Regions from separate parts of the Homo sapiens genome. Here region 2 is linked to region 1. The links are contacts of gene promoters, found by promoter capture Hi-C in blood cells and fetal thymus (Javierre and others, 2016). All regions are on one chromosome and are shown on one strand. The core of a region is centred on a gene start or on the middle of the fragment in contact, and the rest is flanking DNA. Distances in the headings are between cores, read along the strand shown.

Region 1 (4,615 bases), core at 1,770-4,269:
AGCCTCCTGAGTAGCTGGGACTACAGGCGCCCACCATCACACCCAGCTAATTTTTGTATTTTTAGTAGAGACGAGGTTTCACCATGTTGGCCAGGCTGGTCTCGAACTCCTGACCTTGTGATCCGCCCGCCTCACCCTCCCAATGTGTTGGGATTACAGGCGTGAGCCATTGCACCCGGCCTCTTTTTTCTTTTAAAGGAACAGAGGTAGCGCTCACATCTAAGCTGCTCACCATTGGACTTCCCAGCCTCAGCTTTTAGGCATTCCTCTTGAGCTATAAAATCGGGAAGGAGGGCTGGGCATGGTGGCTCACACCTGTAATCCCAGCACTTTTGGGAGGCCAAAGAGGGAGGATGGCTTGAGCCCAGGAGTTCAAGACCAGCTCTGTGCAACATGGTGAGACCCTGTCTCTATCAAAAAACAAACAAATGGGCCTGGCACAGTGACTCATGCCTGTAATCCCAGCATTTTGAGAGGATGAGGCAGTTGGATCACTTGAGGCCAGGAGTTCGAGACCGGCCTGGCCAACAGGATGAAACCCTGTCTCTACTAAAAATACAAAACTAGCCAGATGTGGTGGCGGGTGCCTGTAATCCCAGCTAATCAGGAGGTTGAGGCAGGAGAATCGCTTGAACCTGGGAGGTGGAGGTTGCAGTGAGCCGAGATTGCGCCATTGCACTCCAGCCTGGGCAACAAGAGTGGAACTCTGTCTCAAAACAAACAAACAGACAAACAAAGGAATAGACTGCGTGCAGTGGCTCATGCCTGTAATCCCAGCATTTCAGGAGGACGAGGCAGGTGGATCACTTGAGGCCAGGAGTTCGAGACCAGCCTGGCCAACATGGCGAAACCCCGTCTCTTTTAAAAATACAAAAAATTTAGCCGAGCATGATGGCGCACGCTGTAATCCCAGCTACTCAGGAGACTGAGGCGTGAGAATTGCTCGAACCTGAGAAGCGGAGGTTGCAGTAAGCTGAGATTGCACCACTGCACTGCAGCCTGGGTGACAGAGTGAGGCTCCGTCTCAAAAAAACAAACAAACAAACAACAACAACAACAAAAATTAGCCAGGTGTGGTGGTACATGCCTGTGGTCCCAGCTACTCGGTAGGCTAAGATGGGAGGATTACTTGAGCCTAGGAGGTGGAGGTTGCAGTGAGCTGAGATCCTGCCACTGCATTCCAGCCTGGCCAACGGAGCTAGACACTGTCTCAAAAAAAAAAAAAAAAAAATTCAGAAAGGAGGTGCCCAGTGCTGCTCTGTGTCTTGAGCAATCCCACAATCCCATCACCCCTTCTCCGGGCACTTCCTCATCAGGAAACAGGAGCCAGTTGGAGTCTGGCTCAGGACTCTGCAGCCTCAGTCATGCTGTCCCCTGGGCTCAGCATCCCGTCCTCTCCAAGTGTGCAGGGGGCAGCTTAGATGCCAGGCTCAAGCAGGGCAGGCAGCACAGTCCCACAGAGGGTACTGGCCAGCCCAGGCAACTGATTGCTCAGTGGGATGGCAGAGGTCAGCAGAACAGGAAGGGACGGACAATAGCTGTGCCTGTTGCCTGGCCTGCCACAGCAATCTCGGTGTTTGCCAGCTGGGTGGGGCTGGCTAGGCAATCCTCAGCAGCAAAGCTCAAGGTTCCATCTCCCATTTTAGTTTGCCCCTCTGCAGGTCCTGGTGGGACTGATATGCACAACATCTCACCCTGGGAACTGCAAAGAACCAGTCTTTCTATGGAGCTTGAGCAGGGTCTCAGCACTTAGAGGCTTCCAGGAACTACAGTTCCCAGAACACACAGCATTCAGCCCCAGTTGCTGTCCAAGTGGCTGGGTTTGAACTAGAACAAGGAAATCTCACTTGTCCCGGGAACTGAGCGTCCTGGCCTGGTCCAGGTGCATTTGTGACTCTTGTTTCTTGGATCTGTGTCCACCTGATAAATCCCCCTTCCTTATAAACTACATGGTCTATTTGTCCACACAGGTTTGCTGAGAACCTGCCGTGTGGCAGCCTGAGGTGGGAGTGAGGGGTTGACAAGAGAGACTCAGCCTCCACCCTCACAGTCAGATGGAGGAGACAGATCTATGAAAGGCTGGCTGGGTACCTTCTGTGACCTAGCACATAAACAAACCAACAAGCAGATAAACTATCTCACCCTTGTCTTTCATTGCATCTTGCCTTTCCACACTGATTTACTAGCTCCCACGATATTGCAGTATCCTAAAGCGTGCTGTATCTCTCTGTCCGGCTTTTGCACGCTCTGTTACCTCTACCAGGAGCACATTCAGCTTATTCACTGACGCGTCTTCAGAGGTAGGACAGAGTCTGGCACGGAGCAGTCTGGCACATTAAATATTTGATGAGTGAGTGAACGAATGAATGAATGAATGCCTTTGTCCATTGTACAGCCCAGGAAGCAGGGAAACTCGGGACCCTCCCTATTCATCTCGATCCCCCGCCCGCCCCCAGAGATTGAATGCATCTTTTTATCCGCTCCGAGGATGGCCAGGCTGGGGCAGAGGAGGCCGGGCAGGGAACTGGGTTGGGGACTGCCATTGACCCCCACCCAGGTCTCCTAAACTGTCCGCTTTCCTGGACGTCGGAAGTTCGAATCCTTTCCCCGAAACCTGGCCTAGGTCACCTGACTCCCCCGCCCCTCACCACCCAGGGCACCCGAGACTGACACTCAGCCGACAGCACGTGGTTCAGGGGCCCCAGCTTCCTTCCCATTGGCCGCTTGTCTCCTTCCTCCCTCGCGATTGGCCGGGGCCCAGCTGCAGCTCCCCCCCCTCCTCAGCCCTCCGGTGGTACAGCCAGCCGCGGCTTAGGCGGGGCGGAACGGTCCACTGCTTCGCGGCGAGGGGAGGAGTCGGGAAGAGCCGGGCGAGGCGGAGGGATCCCTCTGGAATGTTTCCGTCGGGTCCACCCGAAGCGGAAGACGCGGATTGGCTGCGAGCACCGAGAGGCAGCCGCTGATTGGCCGGCCGCGGGCGTCGGCCCCGCCCCCCAGGCGCCGCTGCGGGAGAGGCCCGGTCTGGAGTTTGCGGAGGGCCGAGCCGGGTGCGCACGGGGAGGCGGAGGCAGCGGCGGCGGCGGCGGCGGCGGCGGCGGCGGCGGAGCAGGTGAGTGGCCTCTGCGAGAAGGATGTGTCTGCTCCGGGGGCCTCGGGGGTCGCGGGCCTGCGAGGATCCGGCCGATCCTGCAGGGTGGGGCCGGCGCCGTGGACGCGACTGGAGGTCTAGGCTGCGCGCGGGGATGCCGGAGGCCCCTTCCCAGGGGAAGCGGGGGTGGGGGGTGGTGGGGGCAGCTCCCTTCCTGCTGGCGGGCAGGGGACAAACGCCTCCCAACGCTGGGCTGGGGTTTCTGGGCTTGCCCCTCCCCCCGTCCCCCGGCTGGACTGTCCCCATCCCAGCGTGGACAGGCGCGGGGTCAGTGTTTCTGACCCTTTCCTGGGCACTTCCCCTGAGCTAACCGCGTCTGAACCCTCCAGGGCCTTGGGGGGGACGCAGTGAGGACCACGGTCTGAATAATAATCGTCATGAAAAACTCCACCTCAGCTAGCATTTATTGGAGAGCTTCCGTGTCAGGCATTTACCATGAGGATAATTGACTCTAAACACCTCATGGGAGGTGCTGTGCCTTCTTGTAAAAAAGGTGAGGCAGCCTACCCAGAGAGGTGGAGTGACTTGCCCAAGGTCACACAGCTAGTAACTGGCACATCTGGGACTGGAACTCATGCCCCAGGGTCCAGAACTGGAGTCACACCCACTAGACTGGATACCAATAACTCCACGGCTCAGTTGTTGCTGAGTAGCTCCGGCCCCCTACCCCTCCCACCCCCTACCCCGTACTCATCATCAGGGCCACACCTGCTGGTCTTTTGCTTTACCAGCCACTCAAACAGGAAGCTGCCCTCCTTTCCCTTCTCCCCAGAGCTGGAGAGGGCAGGTCTAACTACCTGGGTCCAGAGAAGAGAGTGGCGTCTGCAGGGGGCCAGGATGCTGGGGTCTGGGCCCACTGGGTTCCCCCCTGGCAACCTGGGCCGAGGCTGGGAAGTAGGCGTTCTCCCCGGAAACACCCAGGAGCCGGTTTTTCAAGAGTGAATCAGAGGCCTCTTTCCCTCCTTCTCTCCAAAGCAACACTGTGCTGGAACGGGGAGCCTGGGCGTGGTTTCCCCCTTCCCCTAGCTTCTGTGTGCTCCCAGGAACCCCCTTCCCCTCCTCCTGCTGGCCACACTGCTTCTGTGTGGCCGTGGGGTTGCTAAGTTTCAGGCCCTTCCCAGGATGAGGGGGTGAGGATGCTGAAATTCCAGCCCAAACACTCAATATCCGGGCTGAAGTGGCTCTTCATCTCTGTGTTCAGGTGTGAGGGGAGCCAGGGAAAGTGGGGAGCCTAGGACAGTTGGCAACCGCACAGCAGGCATGTTTAGGGGGCTGTTTCAAGGATGGGGAGCACAGAGAGCAATCAGAACGAGGACCTGAGACACATTCATTCACTCAGTCTACAAATATTTAGTGAGCACCTGCTACGTGCATGTGCTAGGCACTGTTCTTGGCACAGAAAATGCAACAGTGAACAAAACAAAATCCCTACTTTTGAGGAGTTGGCACTCTGAAAGGAAGGAAGCA
Region 2 (4,634 bases), core at 616-3,115, 420 kb after region 1:
GCGTGAACCCGGGAGGTGGATCTTGCAGTGAGCCGAGATCGCACCACTGCATTCCAGCCTGGGTGACACAGCGAGACTCCGTCTCAAAAAAAAATAAAAAATAAAAAATTAAGAGGTTAGATTCATTTTCGTGATATTTTATTTAACCTGTTATACCCAAAATATTATTTCAATGTATAATCCATGTAAAAAAATTATTGAGGTATTTTCCTTTTTTGTACTGTCTTAGAAATCTTGGCCGGACATGGTGGCTCATGCCCATAATCCCAGCACTTTGGGAGGCCGAGACAGGTGGGTCACTTGAGGTCACGAGTTCGAGACCAGCCTGGCCAACATGGCAAAATCCTGTCTCTACTAAAAATGCAAAAAAAAAAAACAAAAAAAAAAAAGGTGGGTGTGGTGGTGGGCGCCTGTGATCCCAGCTATTCAAGAGGCTGAGCCAGGAGACTCGCTTAAATCTGGGAGATGGAGGTTGCAGTGAGCCGAGATCGCACCACTACACTCCAGCCTGCGCAACAGAGCGAGACTCCATCTGAAAAAAAAAAAAAAAAGCCAGATGCAGTGGCTCACACCTGTAATCCCAGCACTTTGGGAGGCCGAGGCAGGCAGATCATGAGGTCAGGAGTTTGAGACCAGCCTGGCCAACATGGCGAAACCCCATCTCTACTAAAACTACAAAAATTAGCCGGGCATGGTGGCAGGTGCTGGTAATCTCAGCTACTCTGGAGGCTGAGGCAGGAGAACCGCTTGAGCCCAGGAGATGGAGGTTGCAGTGAGCCGAGATCGTGCCATTGCACTCCAGCCTGGGCAACAAGAGCAAGACTCCATCTCAAAAAAAAAAAAAAAAAAAAAAAGGAAAAGAAATCTAGCATTTCACATTTACAACATATCTCAATTCAGACTAGCCACAAGCAGCTCTAGACGGTCTCCTTTAAGTCAAATCCACTGTCTCTTAAGACAGGGTTTCGGGTGGGTGGTGACAGTACAGTACTGGAAGGGGAAGGAAACAAGCTTTGTTTCCTGGGTCCTGTTGCTGAGCAGCTTTCTACACCCTTGATTCTCAAACTTCCTAGTGTGCATCAGAATCACATGGAGAGTTTGATCATTAAGTCTGGGATGAGACCCAAGAAAGTGCTTTTTTTTCTCTCTCTCTTTTTTTTTTTTGGTAGAGACTTTGTCTTGCTATATTGCCCACACTGGTCTTGAACTCCCAGACTCAAGCAATTATCCCACCTCAGCCTCCCAAAGTGCTGTGATTATAGGCATGAGCCACCACACCTGGCCCCTGGAAGGCGCATGTCTAGCAATTCCCCAAGCATTGCGGATACTGCTGGTCCTGGTGCCACTACATTGAGAACTGCTGGTTTATATTTACTTCATGGTTCTCAGACTCAGCTGTATATTGTAATCACCTGGGAGCTTCAAAAAATACTGATGTCAAGCCCTTCCCCCATTCTGATTTACTTGACATATGGGGGCCTCAGTTGAGTTTAATATTCAGAAAAGTTAGAGAATCCCTCATCTATACTTAAGTAGTCCTGTCCACTCTTTTTTTTTTGGAGATGGAGTCTCGCTCTGTCACCCAGGCTGGAGTACAGTGGTGCAATCTCAGGGCTCACTGCAACCTCTGCCTCCTGGGTTCAAGTGATTCTCCTGCCTCAGTCTCTTGAGTAGCTTGGACTACAGGCATGCGCCACCATGCCTGGCTAATTTCTTGATTTTTAGTAGAGATGGGGTTTCTCCATGTTGGCCAGGCTGATCTCGAACTCCTGACCTCAGGTGATCCACTCGCCTTAGCCTCCCAAAGTGCTGGGATTACAGGCATGAGCCACTGCACCAGGCCTAATTTTTGTATTTTTAGTGGAGATGGGTTTTCACCATGTTGGCCAGGCTGGTCTCAAACTCCTGACCTCAGGTGATCCACCCACCTTGGCCTCCCAAAGTGCTGGGATTACAGGCATGAGCCACCATGCCCGGCCCCTGTCCACTCATGACATACTTAGTTCTTGGCTCCCCTGCTGGAAATTAAGACCAGCCTCTAGGTGTTTCCATTTTCCACCTTCCCAGGCTCTCTCCGCCTTTCTCTACATAGCTCCCACAGTCACAGTGAAGTATGCTGAGGATGGGGTCACTGGGCTGAGGATGGGGTCAGCTGATGAGCCCTTCATGGGCTGAGCTGCTCTTGGGTGCAGCCTTGTATCAGCATGACCTCTCTGTATTTTATGCATATGGATTTCACTAGACATTTGATGCCCCTATACAAGAGACAGAGTTGGACAGAGCCAAGAATTTGTTTTTGTTTAAGACAGAGTTTCGCTCTGTCACCCAGGCTGGAGTGCAGTGACACGATCTCAAGAGCCAAGAGTTGAAACAGCGATTCTAAAATGTTCCTGGGTTGGGTGTGGTGGTTCACACCTGTAGTCCCAGCTACTCAGGAGGCTGAGGCAGGAGGATCACTTGAGCCCAGGAGATCAAGGTTACAGTAAGCTGTGATCATGCCACTGCACTGCAGCCTGCGTGACAGAACAAGACTTGTCTCCAAAATTGAAAACATTTTTAAATTTAAACTTCCTGGGTCTCCCCTTTTCTGGTCTTAGTGAATTTTTTTTTTTTCTTAGGTTACAGATCTCACTCTCACCCAGGCTGGAGTGCAGTGGTTCAATCATAGCTCACTGTAGCCTCAACCTCCCAGGCTCAGGCGATCTCCTGCTAAGCTTCCAGAGTAGCTGGGACCACAGGCACATGCCACCACACCCGGTTAATTTTTTGTAGAGATGGGGTGGGGCAGTGTCTCGCTATGTTGCCCAAGCTGGTCTTGAACTCCTGGGATCAAGCAATCCTCCTGCCTTGGCCTCCCAAAGTGCTAGAATTACAGGCATGAGTCACCATGTCTGGTCCTCAGTGCACTTCTTTTTTTTTTTTTTAATATGGAGTCTTGTTCTGTCACCCAGGCTAGAGTGCAGTGGTGCAATCTCGGGTCATTGCAACCTCCACCTCCCGGGTTCACGCCATTCTCCTGCCTCAGCCTCCTGAGTAGCTGGGACTACAGGCACCCACCACCACGCCCGGCTAATTTTTTTTTTTTTTTTTGTATTTTTAGTAGAGATGGGGTTTCACCATATTAGCCAGGATGGTCTTGATCTCCTGACCTCGTGATCCACCTGCTTTGGCCTCCCAAAGTGCTGGGATTACAGGCGTGAGCCACCGCGCCAGGCCCTCAGTGCACTTCTAAGACACTGTAAAAATAGTCCCAGAATGTTAACTGTGCAGATACAGTTTTAGAGACAATTTAGGGTGTTCACCCACCCTCTTGAACCCCCATCCAGGGGAGAGAAATTAACCAGAGCTTGCAAATTGACAGCCACAGGCCCTATTGCAAACAGTTGTTGCTTGCCAACTTCCTTCCTTCCTCTCCTCCCGCACAACTTTAAAAGTTTTTTCTAGGCAGGGCGCCTAGAAAAAACTGGGAGGCTGAGGCCGGCAGATCACTTGAGGCCAGGAGTTCAAGACCAGCCTGGACAACATGGTGAAAACCCATCTCTACTAAAAATACAATAAATTAGCCGGTGTGGTGATGTGCACCTGTAATTCCAGCTACTCGGGAGGCTTAGGCAGGAGAATTGCTTGAGCCCAGGAGGCAAAGGTTGTAGTGAGCTGAGATCGCACCACTGCACTCCAGCCTGGGTGACAGAGCAAAACTGTCTCAAAAAAAAAAAAAAGTTTTTCCTAAATAGTCACAATCATAAAAATGCAGATTTCTCTCTTAAAAGCCAGGTTTCAGTTGCCTTTTTTATTTTTTTGAGGCAGAGTCTCACTGTGTCACCCAGGCTGGAGTGCAGTGGCCCGTTCTTGGCTCACTGCAACCTCCGCCTCCTGGGTTCAAGTGATTCTCATGCCTCAGCCTCCTGAGTAGCTGGATTACAGACATGCACCACCACGCCCGGCTAATATTTTGTATTTTTAGTAGAGACGGGGTTTCACCGTGTTGGCCAGGCTCGTCTCCAATTCCTGGCCTCAACTGATCCACCCACGTCGGCCTCCCAAAGTGCTGGGATTACAGGCGTGAGCCACCGCGCCCGGCCACGGATGCTTTTGGAAAGCAGAAACTCTTGACCCAACACCACGAATGAGCACGTCTCATAGTGAGGACCCATGAGGTCAAGAAGAACGGTGATCATTAGGAACTAATAATGTTGAGAAGCCTGAACCCTCACCACCTCTTTTTTTTAGTAGCTATTGTTTACGTTCCCAGGGTAGGAACAGCCTCTTATCACCACTGTCTAGCCAGTGCCCAGCGCAGGGCACATCGTTGGCACCAATAAATGTTGACGAGGAAGCCTGGAAACGAGAGGGTGTGAACTCGGTAAGCGCGCCACATTTTGCGCCCGGGCCGCCAGGGGGCGGTAGGACCTGGGCCAGGCCGTGTCTGGCCGTGCCGGGGGAGGCGGGCAGCCCCAGAGCAGGGCGGTAAGGGCGCATTCCCGCATTCCGGCCCGCACCTCTTGGGGTTTTCTCGGGCCTCCCTCGGCCCGCCGTGCTCCCGCCCCACCCCAGACGAAGAGGACCCAGAAAAAAACAGGCTGCAGTGCCCTGAAAGAAGAGGCTTTATTGGGGGTGGGGGGAGTGGGGCAATC

The links. Contacts are between HindIII fragments. The CHiCAGO score rates a contact against its expected background, and 5 or more counts as called.
Region 2: a contact is called between a fragment that was not itself captured here and the fragment with the promoter of GIPC1 in region 1, in 1 of 17 cell types (M0 macrophages). The highest score is 5.4, in M0 macrophages.

What each region holds. Positions count from the first base shown.
Region 1 is chr19:14,494,531-14,499,145 of GRCh38, reverse strand. It overlaps GIPC1 (GIPC PDZ domain containing family member 1), which reads left to right and starts at 3,019. Exons shown (of 9, transcript NM_005716.4): 1 at 3,019-3,109. RefSeq lists enhancers at 998-1,497, 2,778-3,704 and silencers at 2,686-2,745, 2,886-3,115. The HindIII fragment of the contact is 11,428 bases long and covers 1-4,615 here.
Region 2 is chr19:14,075,015-14,079,648 of GRCh38, reverse strand. It overlaps MISP3 (MISP family member 3), which reads right to left. Exons shown (of 3, transcript NM_001291291.2): 3 at 4,587-4,634. Among named protein-coding and RNA genes, the nearest start is that of MIR1199, 4.0 kb to the right of the region's middle. RefSeq lists a silencer at 4,237-4,472. The HindIII fragment of the contact is 1,703 bases long and covers 1,014-2,716 here.